Linked DNA regions of Homo sapiens: all the other regions are linked to region 3. The links are contacts of gene promoters, found by promoter capture Hi-C in blood cells and fetal thymus (Javierre and others, 2016). All regions are on one chromosome and are shown on one strand. The core of a region is centred on a gene start or on the middle of the fragment in contact, and the rest is flanking DNA. Distances in the headings are between cores, read along the strand shown. Region 1 overlaps SPCS3 (signal peptidase complex subunit 3). Region 2 has its middle 49 kb from the start of WDR17. Region 3 holds the start of AGA (aspartylglucosaminidase). Region 4 holds the start of WDR17 (WD repeat domain 17). Region 5 overlaps SPCS3-AS1 (SPCS3 antisense RNA 1).

Evidence for each region. The method cuts DNA at HindIII sites, captures the fragments that hold promoters and counts their contacts. A CHiCAGO score of 5 or more calls a contact.
Region 1: a contact is called between a fragment that was not itself captured here and the fragment with the promoter of AGA in region 3, in 7 of 17 cell types (non-activated CD4 T cells, activated CD4 T cells, naive B cells and 4 more). The highest score is 8.9, in non-activated CD4 T cells.
Region 2: a contact is called between a fragment that was not itself captured here and the fragment with the promoter of AGA in region 3, in 1 of 17 cell types (naive B cells). The highest score is 6.4, in naive B cells.
Region 4: a contact is called between the fragment with the promoter of WDR17 here and the fragment with the promoter of AGA in region 3, in 3 of 17 cell types (naive B cells, total B cells and non-activated CD4 T cells). The highest score is 7.0, in naive B cells.
Region 5: a contact is called between a fragment that was not itself captured here and the fragment with the promoter of AGA in region 3, in 1 of 17 cell types (total B cells). The highest score is 5.3, in total B cells.

The regions. Positions count from the first base shown.
Region 1 is chr4:176,330,584-176,334,391 of GRCh38, forward strand. It overlaps SPCS3 (signal peptidase complex subunit 3), which reads left to right. Exons shown (of 5, transcript NM_021928.4): 5 at 1-1,662. Among named protein-coding and RNA genes, the nearest start is that of SPCS3-AS1, 12 kb to the left of the region's middle. The HindIII fragment of the contact is 1,791 bases long and covers 662-2,452 here.
Region 2 is chr4:176,014,966-176,018,816 of GRCh38, forward strand. No RefSeq gene overlaps it. Among named protein-coding and RNA genes, the nearest start is that of WDR17, 49 kb to the right of the region's middle. The HindIII fragment of the contact is 1,598 bases long and covers 807-2,404 here.
Region 3 is chr4:177,441,187-177,444,402 of GRCh38, forward strand. It overlaps AGA (aspartylglucosaminidase), which reads right to left and starts at 1,251. Exons shown (of 9, transcript NM_000027.4): 1 at 1,063-1,251. The coding sequence starts at 1,189. It also overlaps a transcript of AGA-DT not described here. RefSeq lists enhancers at 297-376, 1,203-1,746, 1,837-1,916. The HindIII fragment of the contact is 8,233 bases long and covers 1-3,216 here.
Region 4 is chr4:176,063,402-176,067,140 of GRCh38, forward strand. WDR17 (WD repeat domain 17) reads left to right here and starts at 2,440. Exons shown (of 29, transcript NM_181265.4): 1 at 2,440-2,678. RefSeq lists a silencer at 2,316-2,695. The HindIII fragment of the contact is 5,440 bases long and covers 1,294-3,739 here.
Region 5 is chr4:176,304,991-176,308,526 of GRCh38, forward strand. It overlaps SPCS3-AS1 (SPCS3 antisense RNA 1), which reads right to left. Exons shown (of 4, transcript NR_186171.1): 3 at 3,278-3,477; 4 at 2,968-2,977. Among named protein-coding and RNA genes, the nearest start is that of SPCS3, 13 kb to the right of the region's middle. The HindIII fragment of the contact is 7,935 bases long and covers 1-3,536 here.

The DNA.
Region 1 (3,808 bases), core at 307-2,806, 1.1 Mb before region 3:
CTCCAACATGGGAATAAGGACCTTCAGTCTCAGGAACTCATTTTTGGGTGCAGTTTCTACATTTAAAAAATTGACTTGTGTTCAGTTTGATAACCAGTTCATTTGCTTTAGTCTCAGTGTTTTAAAGAAGTCTCATAATGTTCTACAAAGACACAAAGCTTCAGGCTTATACAAAACTGAGTATGATTAGAAATACCTGAGCCCAGAAATGATTCTGAGAAAAGAGAATAATTTGAAGACACTTATTTAAAAGTAATTATGGTTAGAAATGAATTAATTTAAAAATGTGTTCACATATCCCTTTCTCTAACAGTTTAACCTAGACAAACATCTGTATCAGTATTTTTTTATTCCCCTGATTGATTACATTTGGTTTCTTTATTCTGAAAGGAAAATAACAAAAACTTCAGAAATTCCTAAGGGTGTAATAAGAAAGTGGGTTTTGAGTTTCCTTTCCTGGAATTATTTTACAGTTCTTTGGTGGGTCTCGTCAGCCAATTCATAGCTGGGCTTTAAGATTATCATCTTAGAGATGATAGATGGGCTTTTTAAAGATTTCATCTTAGAGATGAAAAGCTGGGCTTTTTCTCTAAGATGATAATCTTAAAGCCCAGCTATTAATTGATAATGAACATTTTTCACTATTTTTTTTTCTATCTGAAGCTTAGAGATCTAGAGCTTTGGATCTTTCGGGTATATGTCAATGGAGGTATTATTTTATAATACTTTGCATTGACATGAAGTGGGTTCATGGGGGAAAACCATGAGCTGTGAACATTGGTAGCAAACAAGCATATATTCATTTCAAAACTTTCCTTGCTTTTAGCAGAGAGAAGCCTGTATATGTTACATGTGTGACTTTCAGTAGTTTAAAGAGATGTTTCAAAAAATTGTTGCATGTTTTTGATGCAATTTGGGAAATTGTTTACTTCACAATGTAGTCATTCATAAAAAAATTCATGAAAATACTGAACATATGTTTGAGGATTTTTCTTTTCCTTTTTAAATTTTTTTATTTTTTCTGAGACGGAGATCTGCTCTTACGCCCAGGCTAGAGTGAAGTGGCGCGATCTTGGCTTACTGCAACCTCCACCCCCCAGGTTCAAGCGATTCTCCTGCCTCAGCCTCCGGAGTAGCTGGGATTACAGGCGCCCGCCACCACGTCCGGCTAATTTTTGTATTTTCAGTAGAGACGGGGTTTTGCTATGTTGGCCAGGCTGGTCTCAAACTCCTGACCTCAAGTGATCCACCTGCCTCGGCCTCCCAAAGTGTTAGGATAACAGGTGTGAGCCACCGTGCCCGGCTGAAGATTTTTCTTAATTGCAATAAATATTCAGCATTTTTTCTAATGAAAATGAATTTTGTTTACCAGTAAAAGTATGCATTTTAAAAGACTTTCAGATTTATGCTTTTTACGTGAAGCTGCTAAACTAAAAGTAAATGGAAGAAACCAAGTCTAGTAGGTTTTTTCTTTTTTTTTGTGGGGGTGGGATGGGGGAGGTTAGTTACACTTAAAATATCTTCTCCAGAGACTGTATGCTCCTATACTAGACTGTAAGCTCTTTGAGGGCAGTCTGTCAGATTTATCTTTGTATCTTCCCCAGCGCCTAGTGTAGTGCCTTGCACATAATAGGCGCCCAATAAATATTGATGAAGAATGAAGGCGTTGTGTTTCTAATGTGACCAAACCATGGGGATTCTTTGTCATTAATACCGTCCTCCTTTGTAAGTGCTGTTTTTTTTTTTTCATTCTTGAGCTCCTAATGACATTAGATCTTATCAGGGGCAGTTGGACAGTTCAGTAAAGGTAAATGCTGCTCTTGCTCTAGTTGCTGTGACCTATGTTCTTTCTGACTTGCTAAGAGAGCCAAGTGATAGTGGCTAGTGATAAGATTGATACATAAATTGCTTTACTTTGAAATAACACTGGAAAACCCTACCGTAGACCTGATCAAGAAAAAAAAAAAAACTCAGGATGCATGTTTAAAGTATAGCTCAGGAAGAAATGGGTTAAAACAAATAGCTGACTCTTTGAAAGGCCAGGGTGTTGGCTGATCCTCCACCAGCTTCTTGGGCACATTGGCTGGTCTGGCTCACTAAGGGAACGTTTATTTACTAGTGAATTCAGACAATCAAAACAGAAATACCCCCTCAAAACAACAGAAAATCATTGCATTTAGAGGGTAAGGGATTTTAACCTAAGTGTATGTTACCAGGAATGATAAAAGAGGTCAGCTACATTTTATTTTGTTTTCTCTCAACCTGGGCAAGTGTATACCAGAACTTTCTCTTTTAAACGTTTTTCCTCATACTCTCTTGTCCTTTTCCCTCTCTCCCAGTGAAGTGTTAAGAATTCGGAGTTCAGTAAATTGTTGCCTGATTAATGAGTTGCCATGACCAAAAGAAAACTTACCACTTTAATAAGTATACCTTTATATCCAAATAAACCTCAAGCTTGAAGGAGCTTTGAAGTGTTCCCTTTTCATGTGCATAATTTATACACATTCCACTTGTGTATCTGTTGAGTATAGTTGGAAATAGGCACCTAAGAGTTGAGAAGTAAAGGGACTGATTAGTACTATACTGGAGACAAAGCCTCTGTGCATTTCTTCTAAAAAGTACCATGTTTGTGCTCCTAAGCCCTATGCTTGCTCGTGAGTGGCTTGGAATGGCTGCAAGCTCCCTAGTGAGTGAGTACAAAGGGTGGGAAGGAATCTAACAGATGTGAGTGGGGAGGAAGTGGGTTCTGACATGCGCTGAGGAATCTGAAACAAATTCATCTTATAAGTCTGCTCAAGGTTGTGTGGGTCTCGCTCAAATTTATTTGAGAAATCCATGGCTTATCCAACTGTGCAGCCTCTGCTGCTGCTTTAAGAATCTCTAAATGCTGTTAATTCTCTGCACGTGCACCGACAACCCAGGATGACTAAAAGTCTAACTGGGAATCACACTTAATTGAGATTAAGAGAGAGATTGATTGCTACCTGACTCTTGCCCTCATCTCAACATTTGAAAGTCTGATTAAACATTCTGTTAGTTAAAATAACACCAAGTGCTATGATAGGTGACATCAAACTTTTGGTAGCATAAGAAAAAGTTTGGGCACGGTGGCTCACGCCTATAATCCCAGCACTTTGGGAGGCTGAGGGGGATAGATCACGACATCAGGAGTTCAAGACTAGCCTAGCCAACATGGTGAAACCCCATCTCTACTAAAAATACAAAGATTAGCTGGGCATGGTGGCATGTGCCTGTAATCCCAGCTACTGGGGAGGCTGAGGCAGGAGAACTGCTTGAACCTGGACCTGGGAGGCGGAAGTTGCAGTGAACCAAGAGCTCCACTGCACTCCAGCCTGGGCTACAGAGTGAGACTCCATCTCAAAAGAAAACAAAAGTTTATTTCTCGTTTTTACAAGGAACCAATGTGGGTATTGAGGCAGCTTTCCACATGGTGTGACTGAAGGACCCAGGTGTCTTCCAGCTTGTGACTGCCGCCCCAGGGTTGACAAGACCTCACTTGAAGTTGGCAGTCTGGGGTTGAGGAAAAGAGTGGAGAAGGCCCACCTGCTTAATTAGCTTCGCCCAGAGTATCACACCACCAACTCGCATTCCAAGGGTGAAAACGAATTGCACGTCCCTGTGCAGATAAGCAAGGGGCATCTGGGAAGTACAATCTTTAGTTGGGTAATCACTTCTCAGGAACAACTATGTGGTGGATGGGAAGCATAAATCTTTCTCACATAGTCATTCTATCACTTTCTGCTTATGCTCACCAGCTTAAGCTGACCAGCCCCTGTTGTATCCCAGC
Region 2 (3,851 bases), core at 356-2,855, 1.4 Mb before region 3:
ATTTCATAAAAATAGCTCCTTATGCAGGTTATAGCAAGAAATGAACTATCACTGGTAAGGATAATCCAGAGTGGTTTTCTTACATTTTGGTTTTGGAACACATTTCTCTTAAGAGGGGGGTTGAGGTGTTCCTAAAAAGCTTTTAATCTGAGTTATATTGATCAATATTTACCTCGTTAGAATTTAAAACCTGCAGAGTGTTTCAGTGACTTTTTCATTCCTAGTTTGGAACTTACAATAAACTTTGGCTTTTAAAGAGCTCATAGTATCTACATTTAAAATATATAATTTCTTTCTTTCTTTCTTTCTTTCTTTCTTTTTTTTTTTTTTGAGACGGAGTTTTGCTCTTGTTGCCCAGGCTGGAGGGCAATAGTGTGATCTCAGCTCACTGCAACCTCTGCTTCCTGGGTTCAAGCAATTCTCCTCTCTCAGCTTCCTGAGTAGCCTGGGATTACAGGCATGCCCCAACATGCCCGGCTAATTTTGTATTCTTGGTAGAGACGGGGTTTCACCATGTTGGTCAGGCTGGTCTCAAACTCCTAACCTCAGGTGATCTGCCCACCTTGGCCTCCCAGTGTTGGGATTACAAGCATGAGCCACTGTGCCCAGCCTAAAATTTATAATTTCTTTTTTAAAAACTCTGAATGGTTGGTCTCAAAATGACGTCACAACTTAGCTGACATCATGATACTATACAAAAATGTTCCATTGCATAGGACACAATCAGATATACTTAGGTATACATTATTAGGATTTTTAAAGCTGAGGGGAAGATAGCTTCCATCATACTCTCATTTCTTATTTAAAGCTTTGCCTTTCTTTGGAGAAAATTCCTCCCTTCCATGAGATAGATGATTCATTTTGTTCATGTCAGTATTTTCAAATGTAGAGGTTGCAACTGTCAGTTGAGAAAGCAAGTTTCTCTTTTTCTTTTTTCTTTTTTCTTCTTTCTTTCTTTCTTTCTTTTACTTCTTTCTTTCCTTCTCTTTCTCCTCTCTCTCTGTCTCTTTCTTTCTTGCACTTTATAGACTATTTAAAATAGTAGTTTAGGTTCTCAGCAAAACCGAATGGAAGATATGGAGAGTTTCCATATCCCCCTACCCAACACATGCATAGGCTCCTCCACTATCAACATTCCCCATAAAAACAGTTCATTAGTTACAATCAATGAACCTACATTGACACATCATTATCTTCCAAAGTCCATGGCTTACACTGTGGTTCACTCTTGGTGTTACATGGTCTATGGGTTTGGACAAGTGCATAAATGACTTGTACCCACCATCATAGTATGCAGAATAGTTTCATTGCTCTAAAAATCTTCTGTGCTCCACTTATTCCTTCCTCCCTCCCCACTAACTCTTGGCAACCACAGATCCTTTTACCAACTCCATAGTTTTGCCTTTTCCAGAATGTTATATAGTTTTAATCATACACTGTGTAGCCTTATAGTTAAAATCATACAGTATTGGCTCCTTACACTTAGTAATATGTATTTATGGTTCCTCCATGTCTTTTCATGCCTAGATAGCTCATTTCTTTTCAGTCCTAAATACTATTTAATTGTTTAAATGCACCATAGTTTATCCATTCACCTACTGAAGGACATCTTGGTTGCATCCAAGTTTAGACAATTATGAATAAAGCTGCTATAATCATCCGTATGCAGGTTTTTGTGTGCATATAAGTTTTCAACTTATTTACGTAAATAACAGGGAGTGAGACTGCTGGATTTTATGGTAAGAGCATGTTTAGTTTTATAAGAAAGTGCCAAATTGTCTTTCAACTAGCAGTGCGTGAGAAGCTCCAGTGTCTCCACATTCTTATCAGTATTTTGGATTTTTGCCATCTCACAGTTGTGTAGAATTGTCTCATTGTTGTTTTAATTTCCAATTCTCTAATGACATAACGATGTGGAACATCTTTTCATATTCTCATTTCATATATTATTATTATCTCTGATTAGGTGTCTGTTCAAATCTTTTGCCTTTTGTAAATCAGGTTGTTTTTCTTATGGTTGAGTTTTTAAAGTTCTTTGTTTATTTTGACTAACAGTCATTTATCAAATAGTTTTTGCAAATATTTTCTCCCAGTCTGTGACTTAAGACTCATATTTTAATTATTATTATTTAGCATATCTTAATGATTAAATATTAAACAGGATTATACATTTAAAGTAGACCACATAGAAGCTGCATATGTAAGTATTGTTTCACTAGAAACAATTGTCACTTAAGTTTCTGTGATGGTAAGAATGAGTACTCACTGGTCTCCTTAATAGTAGGTGAATTGGCATGAATCTGTAGAGGTGTATGCATGAGACAAGAATTTTCCAGTTTTACACTTTTTGCACATTGGCAAGATATTATATGATCATAAACATCACTAAAATATACACGTGCTAAGCTTTAGGGCTTTCAGATAACCACCAGTAGTTTTGTATTGAATTACTTGGTTTAAAGACAAAGCTCAGATATGTGTTCAATGATGAAAAAGAAGTAGTAGGAAATCCTTTTCTTCTTTCTCAAGAACATTAGCACCTCTTCAAATACATTGATTATAGAACACAGACAGCCCTTGCGATAGTTTGCTGAGAATGATGGTTTCCAGCTTCATCCATGTCCCTACAAAGGACATGAACTCATCCTTTTTTATGGTTGCATAGTATTCCATGGTGTATATGTGCCACATTTTCTTAATCCATTCTATCATTGATGGACATTTGGGTTTGGTTCCAAGTCTTTGCTATTGTGAATAGTGCTGCAATAAACATATGTGTGCATGTGTCTTTGTAGCAGCATGGTTTATAATCCTTTGGGTATATACCCAGTAATGGGATGGCTGGGTCAAATGGTATTTCTAGTTCTAGATCCCTGAGGAATTGCCACACTGTCTTCCACAATGGTTGAACTAGTTTACAGTCCCACCAACAGTGTAAAAGTGTTCCTATTTCTCCACATCCTCTCCAGCACCTGTTGTTTCCTAACTTTTTAATGATTGCCATTCTAACTGGTGTGAGATGGTATCTCATTGTGGTTTTGATTTGCATTTCTCTGATGGCCAGTGATAGTGAGCATTGGGAATTGAACAATGAGAACATTTGGACACAGGAAGGAGAACATCACACACCGGGGCCTGTTGTGGGGTGGAAGGATGGCGGAGGGATAGCATTAGGAGATATACCTAATGTAAATGACAAGTTAATGGGTGCAGCACACCAACATGGCACATGTATACATATGTAACAAACCTGCACATTGTGCACATGTACCCTAAAACTTAAAGTATAATATATAATACTTCATATAATATATATATATTATACTTATACATATATATATTATACATATATATATATTATACATATATATATGTATAAAAGAACACAGACTGCCAACTGGGAAAAGAGTTTTCCAACATCTGCATCCATGAAGACGTTTTCAAATGATGTAAAAGCAGATTGATGCTTTCACTGGATTTGTAACTTTTTTTTTTAATACAGAGGGATTTGTAGCCTTCTCCTTCATTAAACAGTATTAATAAAATCACCTCTAAGTAAATGAAATCCTTATGGTTTTTATTAATGATATTAATTTCTTTTTGAGGTTTCCACAATTGCTTTTAAAATCAAGTTTCTAATATCCTCTACTCTTCGTACATCTCTAATTGGAAAAGATGTAAGAGCATTAGCAAAAGCTAATAAAAATGCTCTTATATGTTTTCAAAATAAATGGTTAACAATTTAACATCTCTGATATTCCTTTCAAGCTACCACTATTCTTTTGTATATTGAGTCCTATAAATTACAGACCACTATTTCATGCACTAATACGTGAAATAATTGCTATAGC
Region 3 (3,216 bases), core at 1-2,500:
TTTACGCAAGTTCCCTCTTTCAATACAGGCAACTTAAACACAGAACTGTCCCCCGCCCAGGCTGATGCAATTTCTTTTCGTCTCATTATGGCTGGGAATATCTTTCTCACAGCCTGCTTCTTCATTTTCTCTGAATCGTATGCACTGCCACCAAATTCTGGAGCCAATTCTGCCCTAGAAAGTTAATACGTTAGCAACCTCAGATGGAGGAGGAGGGGTCTGAAAATGACTCTTCTGGTCATTAAGCAAATGAAAGAAACAAGCATAGTACAATGCGAAAATGCCAAGATAATGGTACGTAAAGGCTATTAACAAGGTGTAGAAGGCAGGAACCTAACTCATTCTGGACACGAGGGCAGTTAAGTCAGGGAACGCTTCCTGGAAGAGGTGATACCTTAGCTTAGTGGTTCTCAACCCTGTCTGCAAATCGAAATCACCTAGGGAGCTTTTTAAAGAAAAACAGTGGCCCTGATTCCAGCAGTTAGATCACAGTCACAGGAGGTGGGCCCCGGCAGGATGATTTTTGAGAAGCTCCCCAGATAGTGTGAATGTACAGCAAAGGTTGGAACCTTGAATTCTAAGTGGCAGGTAAAGTATGACAACACGTGGCAAAAAAAGTAAATGGGAAAAGAGTAGGCTATGGCTGGGACACTATTAGTCGTCTACAAAATTGCAAAGAAGTGAAGGATTAGAAACGAGAGGTGGAGACGTACACAGCCCGTGAAAAGACTGTCAGGCAGAAAAGCGTAGCTGCTACTTGATTAAAGCACAAAGGCCATAACTATGGTCAGCAGCAGGGTGGAAAATACATTGCGCTGGGGGCTGCATGAAGGGAGGACCTAAAATGCAACAGCGGTAGGTGGGGAGGATGCAGTAAAGGCCACTTGCAAGAGACTGAGCGGCGCTGGAGACTCGGGAAGACCTAGAGGGCGGGACCGCGAGGCCCGGCCCAGCCCGGCGCTCTTCCGTCCGCCCTGCCGGGTGACTGCAGCGGGGCGGGCTAGTCATCCCCACCCGCAAGCTCTCGCGGCGCAGCCGCCCGCCCAGGCCGCCAACCCGCACCTGCTTCGGTTGCATTCTTAAAGGGCCAAGTGTTGACGACCAGGGGCAGAGGGCTGGAGCAGCGCACTAGGGCCTGGCAGAGCAGAAACGGCACGAGAAGCACAGGCAAGTTCGACTTCCGCGCCATCCCTGACCACCGAAGAGACCAGCGCGAGAAAAGTCCCGGCAGCCAGCGATCGCCGAACAATTAATCCCCAGTGCCCCGCCCGCCTGGCGCCCACGCCCGCTCTCTCGGGGGTTCGCTCAGGCGTCCCTCAACTCTCGCGAGACGAGGCGTCCCTGGGCCCGCGGGAGAGTTGTGTCACGGGGCACTGAGCTGTTCCCTGCGCTAAGGTGCTTCTTCCTAAGTGCTGTTCAGATTTTTAAAATAGCCAGACAAGTTGCTGCTTTTCCTGTGGTTAAAATAGATTTAGCTTGATATTGGGAATTTAATACAAAATTATTCAACTCTGGGTTGCAGGGCCCCAGGAACTTTAGCCGATTGCTGTGTACTATGGATTTGGTTCTTTTACTGTCTTTTTAATTTAAAGTTGAAGTTGAAAAGTTTGTCAAACTCAGTATATTCTTGGGGATCCCAGGCCTCGGAGGTCTGCAATAGTTATGAGTGTAGGTGAAGCGTGTTTGCTTAGGACCGGATTGATTTTAGATTTTTTTTCCATTCATAGCGTCCGTCATTTTCGCACCACAGCTTTTTGTAGCACTTCCTCTCATTATAAATCCCTGAGCTGGAAGAAAAACAGAAACGGCCTATGTACCCTCTACCTAGCACACTGAAGTGCAGCTTCCTGCACCTCCAGGGCAAGACGGCTACCTCCATTCCTTTTTAAATGTATTTTTACCTTCCTGCCTGGCACTATTAAGTGCTAAATAAATGAATAAGAGGAGGAATGGGGATTTTACGTGCTTGGTGGAGGCTGCTCAGTTTTGTTGCTGGGCAGACGTGCGAACATGAACTAATAATCCCTTTGGGTGTCTGGAATGCCTGCCCAGGTTGCCAAGGCAAGACACATAATCACATAATTTTTAAAAGCATCTATAAATCTATACAAACTTTAAAAATATGAACTAGGCTGGGCACGATGGCTCACGCCTGTAATCCCAACACTTTGGGATGCTGAGGTGGGTGGATCACGAGGTCAGGAGTTCGAGACCAGCCTGGCCAACATAGTGAAACCCGTCTCTACTAAAAATACAAAAATTAGCCGGGCGTGGTGGTGCATGCCTGTAGTCCCAACTACTTGGGAGGCTGAGGCAGAATTGCTTGAAGCCGGGAGGTGGAGATTGTGGTGAGCCGAGATCGCACCACTTCACTCCAGCCTGGACAACAGAGTGAGATTCTGTCTCAAAAATAAATAAATAAATAAATGTAAAAATATAAACTAGGTAGGAGTTGTGAGACTTACAAAACCTTCAAGGCTCTTATTGATTGCTAGGAAATTAAATACATAATTTAAAGAACATAAGATAGCCCAGAAGTATCATTATCCCGTTGGGGAAGTGTTAATTAAAAGATATAATAAAGACAAATTTTCTAAGTTCCTTTCATGGGGTTTGGAAGAGGAACAAGTCATCTGTGCTGGAGTAATCATAACCCAATGGCAGGTGAAACTGGAAACTTGGGTGAAACAGGGTAAGAAAGCCAGAAAAACATACATTGTCCTCTGAGTAAATTTTCCTTAGCTCCTGGGCTGAGTATTTTTATGCAGCCTTAAGGAATTAGGACATGCCTTTAGCAAAAATTGTAAAATACAATACATGGAAAATTGGTCTTAGTACCCCACTGATCTCTCTAGCCTCTTCCTGTTTTTTAAGGTATTTGTGTTTCTTCTGGTGGAAAGAGCCTGATCTGTTACCTCCTACTATGTCTATTTCTCCAAATTCTTTCTTCTTAAATAAAAATTCCTGTCAGAGAAACAGCTAAATTACACTATAGTGGGAATGGCTGATAGAAGGTCTCAATATATCAACTTTTCCATGGATATTTGTATGTATGTATGTATGTATGTATTTATTTTTTGAGATGGAGTCTTGCTCTATCGCCCAGGCTGGAGTTCACTGGTGTAATCTCAGCTCACTGCAACCTCCACCTCCTGCATTCAAGCGATTCTCTTGCCCCAGCCTCCTGAGTAGCTGGGATTGCTACTGCCTACTACC
Region 4 (3,739 bases), core at 1,190-3,689, 1.4 Mb before region 3:
TGAGTATATGACATTAAATACTGGTTGAATAAAAGAATAAAAAATCAGAGTAAAGAGATCTTTGTTTTATAAATTAGGTATATTGTTCCTCTAGATCTAATCTAACTATAGTTGTGATTATTTAAATCTGTTCAAAAGGAATGAACTAAATTCTGGTAAAGGAATAAGAGTCCTGAACTGGGAGACCGGGATCACTCTATCAAAATCTGCTGCTAATATGACTGGAGATTTAAACACCTTCATCTTTAAATTATGAGTGCACAACTAGATAATTTCAGTTGTCTCATTCAATTTTATGTTTCTTTCTTTTTCCTTTTTCTTTTTTTTCTTTTTTTTTTTTGAGACGGAGTCTCACTCTTGTCACCCAGGCTAAAGTGCAGTGGCGCAATCTCCGCCTTCTGGGTTCACGCCATTCTCCTGCCTCAGCCTGCCGAGGACCTGGAAGTACAGGTGCCCGCCACCACGCCCAGCTCATCTTGTATTTTAGTAGGAACGGGGTTTCACCACCACGCTGCCGTCAAACTCCTGACTTCAGGTGATCCGCCCACCTCGGCCTTCCAAAGTGCTGGGATTACGGGAGTGAAACACCGCGCCCGGCCGGTTTTTTGTTTCTTAACTGGAGAGCTGGAGCCATTATGAGCAAAATAAACATAAAAGATTTTTTCCGTCCAACCGATGGACTAAGCTAGACGTTGTATCTTCAGCATTTTCTCTTCATGTACACCATTGACTATTCAGCACTATACCTAGCAAATATCAGTCATAAATGAAAACTATAGTCTGTTTTCACAGAAATGTTTCTTGTGATTTTCCCTCTTCGCTATTCTTATTTTCATTGTCTTAACTCAGGTCATCAGCATCTTTTCCCATGAACTACTGAATTTTTCTCCTAACAGACCATGTTCTTCATCTTCCTGCATCCCATGTATCTCCAATGTTTCCAAGGTGTCTTTCTTGATGAAAAAGCACTGATTTTATAAACTTCAATCTCTTCCTTTGGTTTAGAGGTTAAAGCCTAACCCATATATAGAATTCTGCATCTTTCCCAATCAAGTTTTCTTATTTTTCTAGTACAGTCTTTTGCCAATTTCCATCTTCCTTCTTATCTTTGGATTCACATCCCCAACTCCGGAGAAGGCAAAAACATCAAATTTATTTACATCAATCGTTTATTTTTTCCCACTTTATGCTTTTGGCAATGCTGCTCCTGCTGCATAGTATACACTTTCCCCTTTTTATCAGGTGAAATTCTACCTATTTATAAGTCCCTGCTCAAATACTAATCATATTGAAAGCTTCTCTGAATACCTTGGAAGAAAAAGTTCTGCCTCCCTCATCTGAAATCATCTCATAGCACTTTTATGTAACCCTATTTTAGTACTTAACACATTGAGTTATATTTAGTTATTGCCCTTATACTTTCTCTGGTAGATTATGTGCTAATTTCTTTCTTTCTTTATCCATCTATCCATCAAGAATTAATTGAAGACCTGCTATTCATCAGATACTTTGTTAGAATATAGGGGACGGAGTTGTAAGAACTGATTTTAGCTTTAACAAGTTTATTCTTTATATGGAAATCCAACATTTAAGTTAATTTTAATTTACAATATAGAATATTGAGTGCTGTGGTAGGTACTCGTCTCTGCAGAGAATATTTTGGAAAAAAGGAGCATTAAAATCTACTGCATAGGAAGGTAAGAATTAGGCCCAGGGACTTTCTCTGGTTGAGGTCGACCATTCATTTATTAACTATTTAGAGTGGAGTATAATTAATTCTCGATAGATGTCATTAAATACACTTTGTTTCGAGTACGTCGAGGCTTATTCTCTCTAGTGTGTTGGATAAAGGCCACAGGTAGTGAAGATATTTCAGAGATGTGAAGAATCCAGTAGGAATGACAACATCCAGCACTTCCATTCAACCAGATCCCACAGGGAAAATGTCAGTTTTGTGAAGGCAGATACATTAACCACATACAACTCGATTAATATAAACAAATAATCTTATCCATTGAGCTCTCCCACAGACCTTCTTGGGCCCAATCAGACAATAATGAAGTGCAGGCGAGACAGCATTCTGCACTCACATTCCAGGCACTGGTTCAAGTCCCTCCTCCAGGTCCCTCAAGAAAGAGACAGGATGACTGACTTACTGTATATTTGACTCATTTTCCTAGAAAGTGCAGACTCGCTATAAAATGTGTTAGGTGGTGAGAACGCTGATGGTTCACCGTTTTCCTCCACTTTCAGCCTCAGTGCAAACCCTCTGCCCAAAGCCTCGCTCCAGTACGGAGGAGCTGCGCCTTCAACACACTTTCTCTGTTGCCAGGTAACCACTTCTCCCTCAGCCTAGTCTCCAAGGGTCACGAGCCACTTCCGCCTCCCCCTCTCGGGCGCTCCAATCAGCGACCTGTGTAGCTGTCACGTGGGCCTCTGGGGCAGACCCTGGAGATCGGGCTCGCGGCGCCTTCCATCGTGGCTCCGCGCTGGGGCTTGCGGAGCACGCTTCCCGCCCCTCGGAGCCCGCGGGCCCGGCCGCCCCGCCCCCGGGCGCCCTGAGCGAGCAGGCGGGGAGGGCGGGGAGGGTCCGCGCGTTGGTGGTGCTCGCCTCGCAGCTGCGCCCGCCGGCTTCAGCACCTTCCGCTGTCCGCCGCTGCAGCCGCCTCCTCCTCCAGGTAAGAAGCCGGTGGGGCCGCAGAGATACCAAGGCAAGCTCAGGATTGATGTGGGTGATGCTGGAACTGTCGCGGCGTCATGCGAGAGGGGCTCTGACCTCCCTGTGATCGCGGACCAGGGTAATGTACGTCCTGCAGGGCTTTGCACACCATGGTGCCTGATGAGATAATCAACTGAGTTTTAGAGCCACACACCTGATTCTTACAAGGCACAGCAAGCAGCGAATATTTATGTATCTAAACTACCATTGCAGTGTAAACTGTGGACATTTCGAGGGACATTGTTTTATTTTTATGGCTATTAAGTATATGTCTAGAGCCTAGGTTGCTGTTCTCATCCCTCCGCCGGCCAGACACTTCTGTATAGATCATTTACCCCTTTGAAGATGGACTTATTAGTAGGGTTGTACTAAGAAAGGTTTGAGTAAAAAGGAAATGCGTTCCAGAAAAAAGACGGTATTGGATATAAGGCAGGTATACTATTTATTAAGTAGATCGTAAAATAGAATCTTTGCTGTCCTCCCCTCTCCAAAATCAGACTTGTTTTGCTTGCAAAGATTGAAAGGAACAAACAATTTAAGGAGACTTTTTAAATATATTAATTAAAAGCAATTGATTCGAATGAAAAGTAATGAAAAGTCCGACCATGCATCAAAAATAAATTATTTTGCATATTAATATATACATATATACTATATATATTTAACAAGGGTTTGAAGAGAGATACTACATTTCTGAATCTTTCATAAATACCCTTTAGAGAAAACTATCAAAAAAACACAAGTTCGTTGTAAAAGGATACGAAACGGCCAAAGCCCAACAATGTGAGATTATAGTTGCCGTTCTTAGCACTCTAATAACATTTCTGCGTTGTAAAAATTAGAAAATAAATGACAATGAATTTATGAGAATTTATAAATTTGAACTCCACAAGAGTTTAAGCATTAATTTATTTGTAGATTTATGCCTTATCATTACCCTGCTTGCCAGGAGCTGATGCTGGGCGGGTGGTGAAACAAACTCTGTGGAGAAAGCACTCTTACATCCTTTTGAGATTCTGC
Region 5 (3,536 bases), core at 548-3,047, 1.1 Mb before region 3:
CGGAGTCTCACTCTTGTCGCCCAGGCTCGAGTGCGGTAGTGCAATCCTGGCTGACTGCAACCTCCGCAATTCTCCTGCCTCAGCCTCCCAAGTAGCTGGAATTACAGGCATGCACCACCACACCCGGCTAATTTTTGTGTTTTTTTAGTAGAGATGGGGTTTCATCATGCTGGCCAGGCTGGTCTAGAACTCCTGACCTCAGGTGATTCGCCCACCTCGGCCTTCCAAAGTGCAGAGATTACAGGCGTGAGTCACCGTGCCCGGCCTGTTTCTATCATTTTTTAAAAGGCTTTCCATATCCATAGCTTTCTCCTCAGACCAGGGTGGGAAGCGGTGGTAGTGTCTTGTGCTCAGTGCCTCTTCACTTAAAGTGACATTTTCTGCCCTGTCAGGATCCTTGTTCTCTCTGGCTATAATGTTCATCAATATCTTCTGCATTCTCCTTACTGTCTATAAACCACAATTATGGGCAAGATTCAAGTTCTTTTCTGTGAAATTCTTAGGTTTCAAGAAAATCAGGGGTTATGATGAAATATGATGGAGTGTCACCTGGTTCTGCATGTTAGTGTCCATGAGCTGTTGCTCATGTGCATTTATTTAAAACCTAGAGACGATGTATAAGATAAATCTAGTTTATAATAAAATAGCGAGATTGAATAGATCACAACTGTGTCAGCTGTGGTGAAAGCACTAGAAATTAAGTTATTTTTCTTTTCTGAATTGACAGATAATGACAATAATCACACATTATTGTTTGTATTAGATTATTCTTTCAAATATACTTAGTATTCCTTGTGTCAAAGATATTGTTTTCTTCCAAGTCATTTTGTATAAAGTAATATCCCCCTACACTCTGGCATAATAAAGCAACCAACTCATATTGCAAGTTTTTTTTCAGACAAAAAAAAAAAACAGTTAAGATATATGCAATGTTGCTATTTTATTATAAATTATATTCATCTTATTCATCATCTTTAGGTTTTAAATAGTAGCTGCACTTGTAGTTAAATGCTATTTTAATTCTCCAATGAATATCTTATATATAGAAATAAAGAATATAAAACTCTAAAAGTGCTTTTCATGCAGTTTCTCATTTATTACCCCTAATACCCCATTATCAGCTGAACTGTGTCCCCACCCCCCCAAATTCATACATTGAAGCTCTAACCCTCAGTGTGATTGTATTTGGAGTATGGCCTATAAAAAGGTAGTAAAGGTTGAGTCACAAAAGTGAGTCTTTTTTTTTTTTTCTGAGACGGAGTCTTACTCTGTCACCCAGGCTGGAATGCAGTGATGTGATCTCAGCTGACTGCAACCTCCGCCTCCCAAATTCAAGCAATTCTCCTGCCTCAGCCTCCCGAGTAGCTGGGATTACAGGCACATGCCACCAGGCCCAGCTAATTTCCGTATTTTTAGTTGAGACGGGGTTTCACCATGTTAGCCAGGCTGGTCTCGAACTGGCTGGTCTCGAACTCCTGACCTCGTGATCCACCTGCCTCGGCCTCCCAAAGTGCTGGGATTACAGGCACGAGCCACCACGCCCAGCAAGAGTGAGTCTTAATCCAGTATGACTAGTGTCCTCATAAAACAAGGAAGGGACCTAAGAGGCCTCTCTCTCCCTGAGTGCACATGGAGAAAAGGCCCTCTGAAGATTCAGTGAGAAGGCAGCCCTCCACAAACCAGGAAGAGAGGCCTCACTAGAAACCAGTCCTGAAGGCATCCTGATCTTGGACTTCTAGAAATGTGGCAAATTAATTTCTGTTGTTTAAGCCACTCAGTCTATGGTAGCTCAATTTTACAAATAAGAAAAGAGGCCAAGGAAAGGTTCAGAAACTTGCTCAAGGTCACGAAGCAGCCGGCAGATTTTCAGCAGACTGGATGGCTACAAGATCAGTCAAAATAAGTTAGAAAAGATTTGAAAAGAAGTGCCATAAGCAAGAATATTTAATACACAGAGTAGAGTTTATAATAACATAGCAAGATTGCTTACAGCCTAACTGGATTGCTGGATGAGAAATTCAGGCAGAGAGAAGCAATCTTATAGAGAACATCACGTGACTCAGAAAAGGCAGAAATAGGCTTTTATCTGTTCTTTTGAGGCTGGATAACCCTTGGGGCAATTTAGGAAGAACTTTCTAGAGGTTCACCTAGGGAAAGAAATGAAAGAGTAGCTAGATGATAAAGTTTGAGATAGTAAGATATCCGCTAATAGAAAATAAGGAAAAAGACTACTTCCCACTGTGTTTAGAATACAGTTCAAATTCCTTAACATGGACTATCTTTGTGGTATAATGCTATAATTTATTAACCAATCCAGGACATTTTTTGAAGTCAAAGGGAGTGCTATTACAATTTTTCCAGGAAAATATGGTAAAACTAGGACAGCTCTGGGCAAACATGTATATACAGTTACCTTGGCGATAAATGAAGGCCCTGCATCACCTGACCACATCTTGTTCAATTTTCCCCATTCACTGATCCTACTGACTTTCTTCCAGTTCTTTGAACATACCCACCGCTAAGCTCATTCTTGCTCAGGGACCCAACACATACTTTCAGTCTATCTTGTTCAGCTCTTCTCTCTTTGCCTGGTTAACTAATAATCTCTGTAGTGATCACACTCTGTAGGCCAGTTACACAGCAACCCTTCCCTACTTTTTTCTCAATTGTACCTGGATTTTGCCCAGCTGTCCCTCACACACCCTCTGTCACTTGAGAAACTCTGTAACTACAACCTTAGTCCGGGGAAGAATACTCACAGGAAGAAGTCGGTCAGCCGTGGCATTCCTCTGTCTGCCAACAACCTTAGTTTTCAGAGATAGGGTCTTGCTCTGTTGCTCAGGTTGGTGTACAGAGGTGCCATCATAGCTCACCGCAGCCTCAAACTCATGGGCTCAAGCGATCCTCCTGCTTCAGCCTCGGAAAGCACTGAGATTACAGGTGTGATCCACTGTACCCAGCCTTGCCTGGGCAATGACTTAAGGAAAATATATTAGTTTGGAGCTTCACATGGCAGAAAACTCTCCTAATTAGTGGTTTGAATGAAACAGAAATTCATTTCTGTCCCTCATTTAAAAGAAGTGAGGAAGGAGACAGCCGGGGGCCGGGATGGTGTTATAGCTGTCAAGCACTCAGGGTCCATATTGCCTTGTTACCTTCACATGTGGCTGTAGATCTTCAGATCATATTCACATTGCAGCAGCAGGAAGCACGAAGGGACAGGGAAGGGTACACCCCTTCCTTGTGAGAATATAGCCCAGAAATCACTTCCACTTACCTCTATTGCCAAAACAGTCAAAAGGGCACACCTGGTTCTTAGGAAAGCTGGGAAATGTAATCTTTGTTCCAGGTGGCTCTGTGCCCCACTGAAAACTTAGGATCATGGATCTTGATGCAAAACTAGCAGTCTTTCTGCCACAGTGCACCAATTAGCCCGAAGGGAAGGACTCAGTCCTAGCATACTCCTCTTTCCCTCTCCTGCTGGACATGACCAAGAAGACAAGAAATCCAAGTTGCAACTCTTTAAGTGAGAGAAA